4 separate regions of the Homo sapiens genome follow, and all the other regions are linked to region 2. The links are contacts of gene promoters, found by promoter capture Hi-C in human tissues and cell types (Jung and others, 2019). All regions are on one chromosome and are shown on one strand. The core of a region is centred on a gene start or on the middle of the fragment in contact, and the rest is flanking DNA. Distances in the headings are between cores, read along the strand shown.

Region 1 (2,956 bases), core at 160-2,659, 1.3 Mb before region 2:
GTCCCTGCTGCCTGCTTCTCTTCCATCTAGTCCATCCAAGTGTTTTTTGGGGAAGTCACCTGGTACCTTGTTAGGGTTAATTTGTCTTTTAAATTGGGCTCCCAAGGGTATCTGCTAGCTACCCTGGCTCACAAGGCTATTTTGAGGCTGAGGATGTAACAACTGTGAAAACAGTTTGGAAACTAGTGCTAAGCAATTGTTTGTCAGGAAGCAGGGACTTGTGGGAACTCAAACTGTGGACAGATTCAGCACATTGTAGGCCCTCACAGTAACCAGGCTACCCTGTGCTGTCAGCAGGCTTTGGAAGAGCCTCCATAAAATGCAAACTTGACTTTACTAAGCTGAATCAATATTGAGGGAGCACATCCCTTCCTTCAGCTTGTCACTGATGGGAAGCTGTGGCTTAGAGAGAGCAGGGATCTTTGAAGAGTGATGAGAAACTCAGCTAGAGGTGGTTCTGGGAAGGTACCTGCAGTGAATATTTGGGGTGCTGCTTTTTAGCTTTTCCTAGCACCACAACCATGAGTTCTGTTTGTAGCTGGATGTGCCTATGTAATCAGGCAGCTTTCAACTCTGCACTCTTCCTTTCTTCCCTGGCAAGTTGCTTATTTTAGGCTGCCCTTAAAGACAGCATCTTACATGGTGCTCTCATGGAGCCGAAACAGGTGCTGTCCTAAACTCTGAACAACGATCTCCATTAATCTGCGCGCGCACACACATACACACATATTTTTTTTGAGATGGAGTCTCACTGTCACCCAGGCTGGAGTGCAGTGGCAGAATCTTGGCTCACTGCAAGCTCTGCCTCACGGGTTCACGCCATTCTCCTGCCTCAGCCTCCCAAGTAGCTGGGACTACAGGTGCCCGCCACCATGCCCGGGTAATTTTTTGTATTTTTAGTAGAGATGGGGTTTCACCATGTTAGCCAGGATGGTCTCGATCTCCTGACCTTGTGATCCGCCTGCCTTGGCCTCCCAAAGTGCTGGGATTACAGGTGTGAGCCACCGTGCCCGGCCTAATCTGCATGTTAACTCCAAGAAGCATGTCTTCCTGGACCCACGCTGGAAAGGGTGTAGAGCAGTTAAGCATCTTACCAGTGTCTCACCCATGAAGTGGTGGGGATGGGATTGGAATGCAGTCATCTGACTCCAAAACACTGCATTTTTTCAGGCACTCCAGTATTAAGCTACTTTGCACTGTGCATATAATGGTATATAAAACTCATGACTGCCAGCAGGGTGCCAGTTGCCATGGGTTTATTGAACAAGTGTTAGATGGCTAGCCAAATTCCCAATTTACTGACCACCTGCTGTGTCCCTGTTCTGCAAGTTGGGGATAAAGAAGCTGTTCTGTCTTGAAAGCTCTGAGGTAGTTAATGACGATCCCATGATCTGGCTTCTGTTCCTTTCTGTGAAGTAGCAGATAGTGTATGACTGTGACGTGATAGAAATTGAGAGCCAAGAAGATCAGTGCAGGGAGGCTGGGTCTTGGAAGGCTTCCAGGAGACATACAGCAGTCCCCACCTATCTAGTTTCAGTTGCTGTCGGTCAACTGCAGTCTGGAAAATTATCATGGCTAAATGGTCTGGGATCACCCAAAAGTGATGATCCTCTTGAAGTGTCATCAGAAGGTCAATAGTAGCCTAACACGTCACCATGCCTACGTCATTTACCTCCCTCTCCCTTCCACATAGGCATTTTATCTCCCATCAAGAATGTGAATACATGTACGTATTCAGAGGAAAAGAGTTCATGCAGCCTACTACAGTATAATTATTAATATCTTACTCCCTAAATTATGAACTTTAATTATGTATATATAGCAACAAACTTGGTGTAGATAGGGTTTGCGGTTTCAGGCATCCACTGGGGGTCTAAGAACGTTTGCCCCATGGATAAGGGAGGATTACTGTAACACCAGCAGTGGCAAGAGACATGATCTGATTTGGATGCACAGGAGAAAGTTCTCATTTGAGGCCATGAAAAATAGGAAAGAAAGCAGGGAGATGGGAGCAGGCAGTGTGGGACAAGGTGAGACCAGTCATTCTGCAAGGGGAAGAGAGGATGACACTGGGGAGGTGGGAGCAGAGTGGGTAGGTAGGCATTCTCTTGAATCAACAAGATGGAAGGCCCTACATGACTGATGCCTTTGAGCAGAGTTTTGCACAATGCATTTCTGGTGGGAGATACTCCATTTCAAAAATAGTCTTCAGGTTGGCTGCTAGAGCACAGAAGTATGACACCTGACTCATTTGTGCTGGCAGAGAGGCTCTCCTGGGTTTTAGAGCTTTGTGAACACACCTCCATACATTAATCCAACTGTCCTTCCCCATCCACTCACCCTTGAACTTCCCGCATGCCAGATGTTGAGGGGAGGCAGAAATGAGACCTGCCTCCCAGTGCCCACAGTCTGGATGAGAGGGTACAGGTGAGGTCCTGGTAAGAAACGAAGCTGGAGAGGTCAGCGGAGAATAAATCAGGGAGGATCTTGTATGCCAAGCTAAGGATTTCACTTGTTCAGTGTTTTGGTTAAAGAAAATAAAACGTTGGAGAATTAGATGTTCTGCAGTGGATTGTGTGTTCTTTTCACATGCCGAGTTCCTCCACACAGGAAATACTTTGGCAACGCTCTGGCTGCTCATCATGCATATTGGAGAGGGAATTTATGTAGAAGGTTATGGGTCGATGAGATGGCATCCAAGTATTTATCGTATTTTTTTGAGATGGAGTTTCACTCTTGTTGCCCCGGCTGGAGTGCAATGGCACGACCTCAGCTCACTGCAACCTCCGCCTCCTGGGTTCAAGCAATTCTCTGCCTCAGCTTCCCGAGTAGCTGGGATTACAGGCATGTGCCACCATACCTGGCTAATTTTGTATTTTGTAGTAGAGACGGAGTTTTTCCATGTTGGTCAGGCTGGTCTTGAACTCCTGACCTCAGGTGATCTGCCCACCCCGCC
Region 2 (2,890 bases), core at 191-2,690:
CCCCTCCTAGGCCAGGAATCGGAGAAGGGGGCTATGAACTTCCAGAAGCCAAGCTAGCCAAACTTCCAGAGGCCAAGCTAGCATTCTTATGAAGCTAGGGCACTGCTCTGACCTCATGAATTTGCTTGGCTGGCATTTTGCTGCCTGACCTGTTCCCATGAGCCCATTCAGGATCTGGGGCAGGTCAGTCCAGAGCTGGTCCCTACTCCTGCCCACCTGCCTCCAAGGCTCAGCCCCACCCCTTTCTCTGACCCCTCAGGCCTCTAACTGAGACCGCAGCTCTCTGAATCCCAAACTGTGAGAAAGACAGTCCAGACTCTGTCCATCACAGATGCCCACAGGCACAGTACTTAGTTGACAAATCCATGTCTCTCTCGTTCATTTTATCCTAAGAACAGACACGAGAAAAAAGCAGGATGAGGAGCATGATCGCACCCTTACCCTCCAGATGGGAAACTGAGGCCCAGAGAGGCCTGGAGCACTGGTGCAAGCTGGTAGCAATACTCCAGGGCTCCCTAGCCCTAGCCAGTGCCTTCCTGTGTCCAGGCCTCAGCTTCCCCTGGGGACAGTACAAGTGTTGGGCCAGATGCTCTCTCAGGTCCCTGCGTGGCATCCATTTATTGCAGACCTCCCACCACCTTGCAGTGAGGGTGGCTCTGGCTGCTGGGAAGCCCACTTTCAGCACGTGGGGTTTAAATGCTCCTGCTGTGGGTCTCCCCACTGAGTCCCCTCCCAGGGTGCATGCTGATGGGAGGGGGCAGCTGGCAGTCTGCCCCGGGGCTGTCAGTGTGGGTCCTAGGAGGAGGGATCAGACCCAGTCCTGGGGAGGGCTGGGGGCCTGAAAGGAGCATGATGAGCCCAGGCTGCGTTTTCAGTCTTGCTAGAAGCAGGTCTGGTCCCCAGAAACAACTAGAGACAGGCCCAGGCCGGGACAAGCAGGCTAGGGGGCATCATGGGAGGTGTCTCAGCTTATCTCCTCCCTCTTGCGCCTCTAGCTCACTAATCCCGCCTCTCATCTCACCTTTCTCTAACCCTCTCAGACTGCAGGACCTAGGGCAGCAGGGAAGCTTATTTGGCCTGAGCCTTACCTGCAAAGGGCTCAAAGGTAGACTTTTGCTATTATATTCAAATTGCAACGTATAGATGCTCATATTTTGGAATTAATTACGTTTTAGCAGTTTTTCTTTTTTTAAAAAAATCTGCTGGTACCTTAATAAACATGGAACCAGCAACCTTTTGCCAGGTGTCTGTTCTCCGGGTCTCTGGGCCTGGAGGCGGGAGTGTTTCAAAGCACTTCACGCTCCGCGGCCCCACCGGCTGGCTGCGCTGCCCGCTGCGGCCGGCAGGGGTAGTCCACGGACAGGCCTGGAGGAGGCGGGACGGGGGCAGGGCCGGGAACCTGGGCAAGCCAATAAAGGCTGCGGCGCGCGGCTGCGCGGGACTCGGCCTTCTGGGCGCGCGCGACGTCAGTTTGAGTTCTGTGTTCTCCCCGCCCGTGTCCCGCCCGACCCGCGCCCGCGATGCTGGCGCTGCGCTGCGGCTCCCGCTGGCTCGGCCTGCTCTCCGTCCCGCGCTCCGTGCCGCTGCGCCTCCCCGCGGCCCGCGCCTGCAGCAAGGGCTCCGGCGACCCGTCCTCTTCCTCCTCCTCCGGGAACCCGCTCGTGTACCTGGACGTGGACGCCAACGGGAAGCCGCTCGGCCGCGTGGTGCTGGAGGTGAGACCGCTCGCAGGGCCGGCCTGGGCGCGGGACACGGGCCCGGGGAGAGCCCTGGGCCCCGGGCGGCGCGGTGCCGGGCGCGCTGGGTGACCTTGGGCCTCCCCATGCCGAGCTCTGGGCCTCAGTTTCCCCATTTCTGAGAATGGGCGTCAGAATGATTTCTTCCGGCCTCCCTCGGAGCACTGGAGCGGGGGAGACGGGAGGGAGGGCACGTGTGGAGGAGAAAGCTCAAGGTCAGATCGCAGAGAGGGAGGGCTCAGCACCTCTGGGCCGGCCCGGGCACGAGGGAGGGGCTCCAGGAGCCTTCTGGGGCTGAGCCTAGATCCGGAGCTCCGAGGTGGGTGTCGGGGGTCTTGGGGTGAGCGTCGTGGCCCAGCGGGTGCTCACGTGGCGGCCCTTGCACAACACGGAGCGCTTCCTGGCTCCGGCCCCGCCCCTGCGGTCGGGCTCACACTGGGGGTGCTGGGAAATGGAGCGAGAGGTGGTTTCCAGCAGTAGTGCGGGCCCAGTAGGCCTCAGGCCCCGGCCACCTGGTGGACCCCAGAATGCCCCTCCTGCGAGTCGGGACACACTCAGAGACAGTGTGCCCGGCGCCTCAACCCCTGCCACTGTCCTTGGGGGCCACACTGAGCACCTCCCCTAACTCTGTTTTTGGGTCTTTTCTAAAGCAAAGTAAGAAACAGTCACCAGGGTAGCTTTAGAGGGAAAGCCCTAGTGGAGCCTTCAGGTCGGCCACACATTGACAGCAGGGGTCTGTTTGTGTTGACTGGCCCGTATCCCAGGGAGCCCTTAGTATTTCTTCTTCATTCTCAGTTTCTTCTGGAAAATAGGGACACCCTTCCTGCTTCCATTTGGTTCCAGGGTGGGTCTTGCAGCTTCGAGGGTAGAGGCTGGCTGGGATGGGGCTTCAGCCTTCCCTCCCCACACCCTCATGCCTCTCCCTGGGCCTCAGTTTCCCAACCCCGAATGGAGGAGCTGGTCTGGCTTCTACCTTAGACACACTCTCTTGTCCCTGAATTTCTGATGCTTTGGGCCCAGCTGTGGGAGCACTGCCAGCTGTGTCCACAGAAGTAGGCCAAGATAGCATTGTCATCTCTTCTGACAGATTAGGAAACCAAGGCCACCTCCTCCAGCCTTGGGTTCAGGAAACGGCTCCCAGAAATGATAGAGCT
Region 3 (3,083 bases), core at 364-2,863, 1.1 Mb before region 2:
CAAGACAAGGAGAGAGACAGAGCCAGCCACACAAACCCTCTTATTCCCAGGAAGAGCAGCCAAGGAGATGAGAAAACAGTTTGCTGAATGAAGCCCGGCAGACCTCGAGAGAGTCAGTCCCCTAATGGTCAATCAGCGCATGACTCAGAAATTGGGGCTGGTGAGTCTGTGGCGGCAGAGAGGGTGCTGGGGTGAAGGCCAAGCCTTCCCTCTGCACCTGGACGAGGTGCCCAGAGCCCAACCCAAGGGTGGGTAGTACAGACCTTGCACCCACCTGCTCCTGGCCATTTTACTGAGCCTCAGCAGTGGCGATGATCATTGTCAGGAAGGTCCCAGCCCTGATCCCCATCTGCCAGCTCCAGCTTGGCTTGCAGGGAGCAGACAGCCTGCTCTGTTGTGCCGGCTCCTGGCTGCACAGCCTGCTGTCGCTCTGGCCTCCCCACAACTCTGCCCCTCAGAAGCTTCTGAGGGGAAGGAGGAGAGGGAGCGCTGCATGTTTAGGAGATATGGCATAGACAAACCAGATACACCAGAATGGTCACGTTACTCTGCAAGCATAAATTGAGCTCAGGCAACAGGCACTAGGTAAGTGTTTGCATGAAGGTGCAACCTGTTTAAAAGGAACCTTAACTGGTCTGGGCCAGTTGTAATGAGAGAGCACCTTGTAAATGGGAGAGCATAGCCAGGTGAGCTTGGCAGCTGTCAGATTAAAAATCAGTTTTGACCAAAATAAATCTATTATGGTTCTAGAAATGCCCCCTGGACCAGGAATGCAGAACAGGGGCTGTGTGACTTTATTCCCCATCATCTCTTCCACACCTGGCACTGAATGGGCACTGAATCCGTTGAAGACTGAATGAGTTCTAACATGTCCATCCATATTAATAACTAAGATTTATCTAGTGCTTGCTACAGGCCAGACATTTGGCCAAGCACGTTGCATTATATCTAATCCGGCAATGCCTCTAAGGGATAGGGACTCTTACATTACATTTTACAGTTAGGAAAGTGAGACCCACTGGGGCAAAGTGATTTTTCCAAGATTACAAGTGGGAAATGATGCGGCTGGTCTTGGTACCTGGGTTGCCTGAATCTAGATATGGCAATCTTGCAGTGCCATTGGGCAGCTTTTCATAAAACATTGTTCTAGTTGGCACAGTTTTTCATACCTGTTACCTGAATGGCTTTGCAAACCAGTTAGCTCTAAGCTGCCCCCATCTCTGGGTTGGCTACTGCAGCAGCCTCCTCCCTGGTCCCCTGACTCCCCTTCCGCCCCTCCAAATGACTCCCCCTGGCAGCAGCCAGGGTGACCTCAGCAGGCAAGTCTCATTAGAGTGTCTCAGAGAACCGGTGCTTCCCATTGCTTGTGGGGTAAGGACATAGTTCCTGAATGCAGCCCACCAGACCCTACCAAGCACACGGCCTCTTAACCAGCAGCCATGAGCTATCAGGGGGCTGAGAAATCAATGTCATGGCTTGTGACCTTAAAGCAAAGACATAGAATGAGCTAGAATAGAAATAGAATAGAAACTCTCAGAGAGGTCACATTTAATGTGGCAAGAATAACTGCTTCATCAGTCTTTTTGAAGTGGATGTATGCAGGTAATTACACATGTATGCACATGTGTGTGTTCTACGTTCCGGGTCAGCAAGCAAAATGTGTTTCTTACCATAGGGCATCATAAAAAATGTGGGAATTCAGTCATATAGGAGCTCCTGATCTAAGCTCATGCAGCCCACACCCCTTTCCTCTTAGCTCACAGCCACATGGTCAGCTTTAAGCCCCTTTCAGCTTTAGTTAAAGACACAGGGCTTTTGCCTGGAATGTTGTTCCTGCCTCTTCATTTAGATAACTTGACCATTCTTTCTTTCTTTCTTTTTTTCTTTTCTTTCTTTTTTTTTTTTTTTGAGAAAGAGTTTCACTCTTGTTGCCCAGGCTGGAGTGCAATGGCACGATCTCAGCTAACTGCAACCTCTGCCTACCGGGTTCAAGTGATTCTCCCGCCTCAGCCTCCCCAGTAGCTGGGATTACAGGCACCTGCCACCATGCCCAGCTAATTTTTAAAAAATATTTTTAGTAGAGACAGGGTTTCATCATGTTGGCCAGGCTGGTCTCAAACTCCTGACTTCAGGTGATCCACCTGCTTAGGCCTCAAAGTGCTGGGATCACAGGCGTGAGCCACTGCGCCCAGCCTGACCTCATTCTTTCAATCTCAACTCAGGCACCGCTTCCTCCATGAGCCCTCCCTGGCCCTCCCCACCCCGACCCTCACCCAGTATCCACCCACACAGCACCAGGGACTTCCCCTTTATAGCGTTTCTCACTGCTGCACTTTGACATGTGCTCAAGTACTTATTCCACTGATGGCAGACCCCCCACTAGTCTGTGCTCCATGGGGATGTCACCTAGGGGAGGACAGCCTGTCTTAGAGTGCCCGATGGGGTCTGGGACAGGTTTATTTTTGCTAACCATCGTTCCCTGTGTCTAGCTAGCACCATGTCTGGAATATAGTAGGTGTTCAACAAATGCATGGAGATTGAATGGATCTGGAGAGGCAGAGTACTGCTGTGATCTTTATAGATGAGGAAGTGGAGCCCCGGAGAGCCCTAGAATGATGCGCTTAATGCCCCAGCCAGGTTAATCTCTAGAAGCCCTTCTGCTCTTCACTCCCACCATGGCATTTCGCAGTCCCCAAAGTCTGGCTTGAGGTGTCAGTCTGAGTCCTCCCTCACTCTCCCTGCCCTCCTCACCCTCTTGTCCACAGCTCCCTCCCACTGTGGCCTCTGGGCTCCTTTTCCCTCTCCAGCTGGCTGACATAGGGGGTGGCTGGGGGAGGCACAACTCAGAAAGTGACAGCGACAATATTAGGAGTGAAAAAGATCAATTAAGCCCATCGAGCTGATTTGTGAAGCTGATTAAATTAGGAGCCTCCCTGGGGGCAGAGGCTCTCTCAGGTTGATAGACCCAGCTGCTGGCTGCTGTAGGGTCCTTGCCAGCCCCCAGGGTGCAATGGGGGCCACTTTGTCCTGCTCTGTCCACGGAGAGGGGATGAGGGGAAGCTCCCTTTAGAAAGCCCTGGCAG
Region 4 (3,118 bases), core at 35-2,534, 1.1 Mb before region 2:
CCTCTCTGAACATCCGGCCCTGTGCCCTCCATCCTTGGTGTTCAAAGCTTCACAGAAGCAGCTCAGCAGGAAATGAGAGTGCTCTGACCCCTCTAGTCCCTTAAACTCTTTTAAAGGAAGAAATACCCTGATGGGAGTGTCTTCTGGCAGATTTACATTTTTTAAAAAATGCCAGTCACTGCTCTACAAAATGGGAAGCCCAGGCTCTAGAGTGAAGATCAAGGTGCAGAGAGCTGGGTGGCCGACTTTTCTCATCATTCTGCTCTGGGCCAAGGGCTGCTTCTCACCCTGCTTCCCCAGAGAGTAGCCACAGGGCCAGGCTCCCTCCATCTCCTCTCCCTGCCCAGCTCTAGCTTGGCCCATGGCTCTCTGAACCTCCCACTGCACTCCTGCTTCTGTTTTTTTGGGTGCCTGACCTCCACCAAGCATCTCCTTCCCCTCCTAGCTCCTGACCCGAGGCCTTGGAGGAACCCTCCCTAGGTTCCAACTGGGAGGGCATCCCTCCACTACATGTCCTTTGAGACTGGTTCTAGAGCCCAGCATCAGGAAACTATACAGGTTTGGAGCCCAAGAGATCTGAATTTAAAGTTTAGCTCTATAGCCATCAGCTTTGGAATTTGGGCAACTCACAAACTCTCCCTGAGCCTCAGGTTTCCCATCCAGAAAGTGGGTATAAAAGCACCCATCTGAGAGAGTGACTGCAAGACGGTGAATGAATGTGTGTGATGTGCCTAGCAGCCAGCCTGAGAACAGTTCTGTTCCAAGTGGGGCCCAGGACTGGTGCCATCCGCAGACTGGTCATAATAGAAATGGAGAGTGAGAATACTTGTACAGCAGCTTGACAAGATGGTGACATTTTAGCTTATTTCATGAAAGCATTTCCAACAAATTGGAAAATAAACTGATTGGAAATGAAACAAACTGGTTCTTCCACACTTAGACTTTGAGACGTCTTACTCAGCATGGAAGAAATCTCAAGAAACAGTGGTTATTTTCATCCATCCATCCACCCATCCACCCACCTATCCACCCATATGCCCACCCACCCACCCATCCACCCATACGCCCACCCACCCATCCATCTACCCACTCATCCATCCACACATCCACCCACCCACCCACCCATCCACCCATCCACCCATCCACCCATCCACCCATCCATCCATCCATCCATCCACCCACCCATCCATCCATCCATCCGTAGATTCACCCCTCACGGTGAATTCATCCCTCATGGCGGATGCTCAGAGGACCTAAATTTGGCTCTGGCTGTGACTCTTCATTTATTGAGCTTTGTTGGGGTAGATGAGAGAGGTCTGTATGTTCCCCAAATTTCTTCAGGCAGAGGCAGCTCTGAATTATATCATATTGTCAGGGGTAGGGCCAGGAGAAGCCCCATCCCCCAATTGCACCCCTTGCCCTTGCTTGGCTCCTGCTTTCATTTTCATCAGGAAAACCCGGGTAGGATTTACTCTAAGTCTGTTCTTCATCTTCCCAAAACTCAAAGTCAGGAGTTTGTCCCCCACTCCACCTCCCCCAAACTAATTTCCTTTTATTATGAAAACCAGAAAAATGACAAGTAATTGCTTGAAGATGTTAGAAAGATTGCATTTTGTTTTGCTACTATCAGCTTAAAAATAATGTTTAAGAGATTATGAATGGGTGATTAACTATTTTTTCTATTACTTCTCTCTCAAAAGCAAAACCACAACGATTGTGATATGCACAGTAAAACGAAAGCCCAGCTATCTGAAACCAGGCTAGAAGAAACCAAAAATACCCACCCCACAAGGAGCCATGTCCCTTTCGGGGAGAAATTGTTGCACTCAGATCTGGGAGAAGACAGAGCCATGCAAAGTTAAGTTGCTAAAGTGGCTAAAAACAAACATGGTCTCCACGCGCTAATTTTTCTCCATGGCCCCTCCTCCCCACTCCTTACAGTAAACAGCAGTTATGGGGACTGCAGTCAAATTCCCTATTTACTGCCTTTCCTGAGTCAGTTTCTTTTGGGTGAAAACAGTCTCTGATGCAGCTCTATTGCACCATTTCAGCGGGTGTTTATCATTTAAAAGGAACAATTTTAATACCTACATTTGCCTTACAGTATGAGCCATAAATGTGATTTAGGTTTCCCTTTATAATAGACTCTACAAACGATTGCCTAGGCTCCAGAAGAACTGTTTCTCCAAGTGCTGGCCATGAAAATGAACAGGCTTTTCCTTTCTTTACGAAAGTTTTCCTTTTTAATACCTCTTGAAATTAATTGAACAAAAACTGGGTAAATGGGCTGACTCACACATCTTCCTTGCTGGGAGTCTGGAGCCTGCCAGCAATGTCTTGGGAAAGGATGGGTCTCCCAGAGTGGGCATGGGAGGAAGGCCCAGGAGGTTGTGCTGCTGATGCTGTTTGTCCTACTTCCTGCCCCCCTGGGCCCCAGCTTCCTCCTCTGCAATGGTGGGGTGGCGATGGTGGTAATAACATAGATCTCCGACATCAGTGCTACTCAAAGCCAGGTTTGTGGGCTGGCAGCATCAGCATCACCTAAGAGCTTGCTAGAAATGCCAATTCCCTGGCTCTGCCCAGACTTGCTAAATCAGAATCTGGAGGTAGGGCCCAGCAATCTGTACGAGAAGGTTGTCCGGGTAATTCTAATACATGCTAATGTTTGGGAAGCTCTGACTATTTGGAAGCAGAACTAGAAGCCTGTCAGGGGTCACAGTGAACTGCTGAAAGTGTTTATGAGCTCCCATAATCCAGTGGCATCCTGGTCCTGGGAGCGGTGAACCCACTGGGTGCTTAGGATCCAAGCTGGTGAGTGACAAAAGTAATGGATCCAGTCTTGGACACCATAGACTAGACTTGAAAGTTGACAGACTCAGGTGTGTGTCCTGAGATGGGAAAGAGGACGGTGACAAGTCTGAAAGATAGAATCTGTCCTGTTTATTCAGAGTTGATGTCTACATGGTTTCAGGGTTCAGAGCTGGGTAGAACCCCAGGGGAGAGGAGGCATCCTGGCCAATGGAAGTGTGCAGGCAGGAGCTTCAGATTGTGATCCCCTTTGCCATTGAAGGGTTTCCTACATTAGGGAGGGTCCCCATTGGCCTCAACATTCCAGGAC

Evidence for each region. Contacts are between HindIII fragments. The study calls those that stand out against the background at their distance.
Region 1: a contact is called between a fragment that was not itself captured here and the fragment with the promoter of PPIF in region 2, in 1 of the 25 tissues and cell types used here (dorsolateral prefrontal cortex).
Region 3: a fragment that was not itself captured here is called in contact with the fragment with the promoter of PPIF in region 2 in 2 of the 25 tissues and cell types used here (H1 embryonic stem cells and heart right ventricle).
Region 4: a contact is called between a fragment that was not itself captured here and the fragment with the promoter of PPIF in region 2, in 1 of the 25 tissues and cell types used here (dorsolateral prefrontal cortex).

The regions. Positions count from the first base shown.
Region 1 is chr10:78,042,287-78,045,242 of GRCh38, forward strand. It overlaps a transcript of RPS24 not described here. Among named protein-coding and RNA genes, the nearest start is that of RPS24, 9.9 kb to the left of the region's middle. RefSeq lists an enhancer at 345-454. The HindIII fragment of the contact is 6,274 bases long and covers 1-2,956 here.
Region 2 is chr10:79,346,029-79,348,918 of GRCh38, forward strand. It overlaps PPIF (peptidylprolyl isomerase F), which reads left to right and starts at 1,441. Exons shown (of 6, transcript NM_005729.4): 1 at 1,441-1,715. The coding sequence starts at 1,521. RefSeq lists cis regulatory regions at 1,108-1,685, 1,185-2,226, 1,185-1,858, 1,185-1,736, 1,185-1,735 and 5 more and silencers at 1,215-1,624, 1,645-1,874. The HindIII fragment of the contact is 10,018 bases long and covers 419-2,890 here.
Region 3 is chr10:78,290,168-78,293,250 of GRCh38, forward strand. No RefSeq gene overlaps it. Among named protein-coding and RNA genes, the nearest start is that of LINC00595, 24 kb to the left of the region's middle. RefSeq lists an enhancer at 2,497-3,083. The HindIII fragment of the contact is 9,221 bases long and covers 1-3,083 here.
Region 4 is chr10:78,205,645-78,208,762 of GRCh38, forward strand. No RefSeq gene overlaps it. Among named protein-coding and RNA genes, the nearest start is that of LINC00856, 41 kb to the right of the region's middle. The HindIII fragment of the contact is 8,951 bases long and covers 1-3,118 here.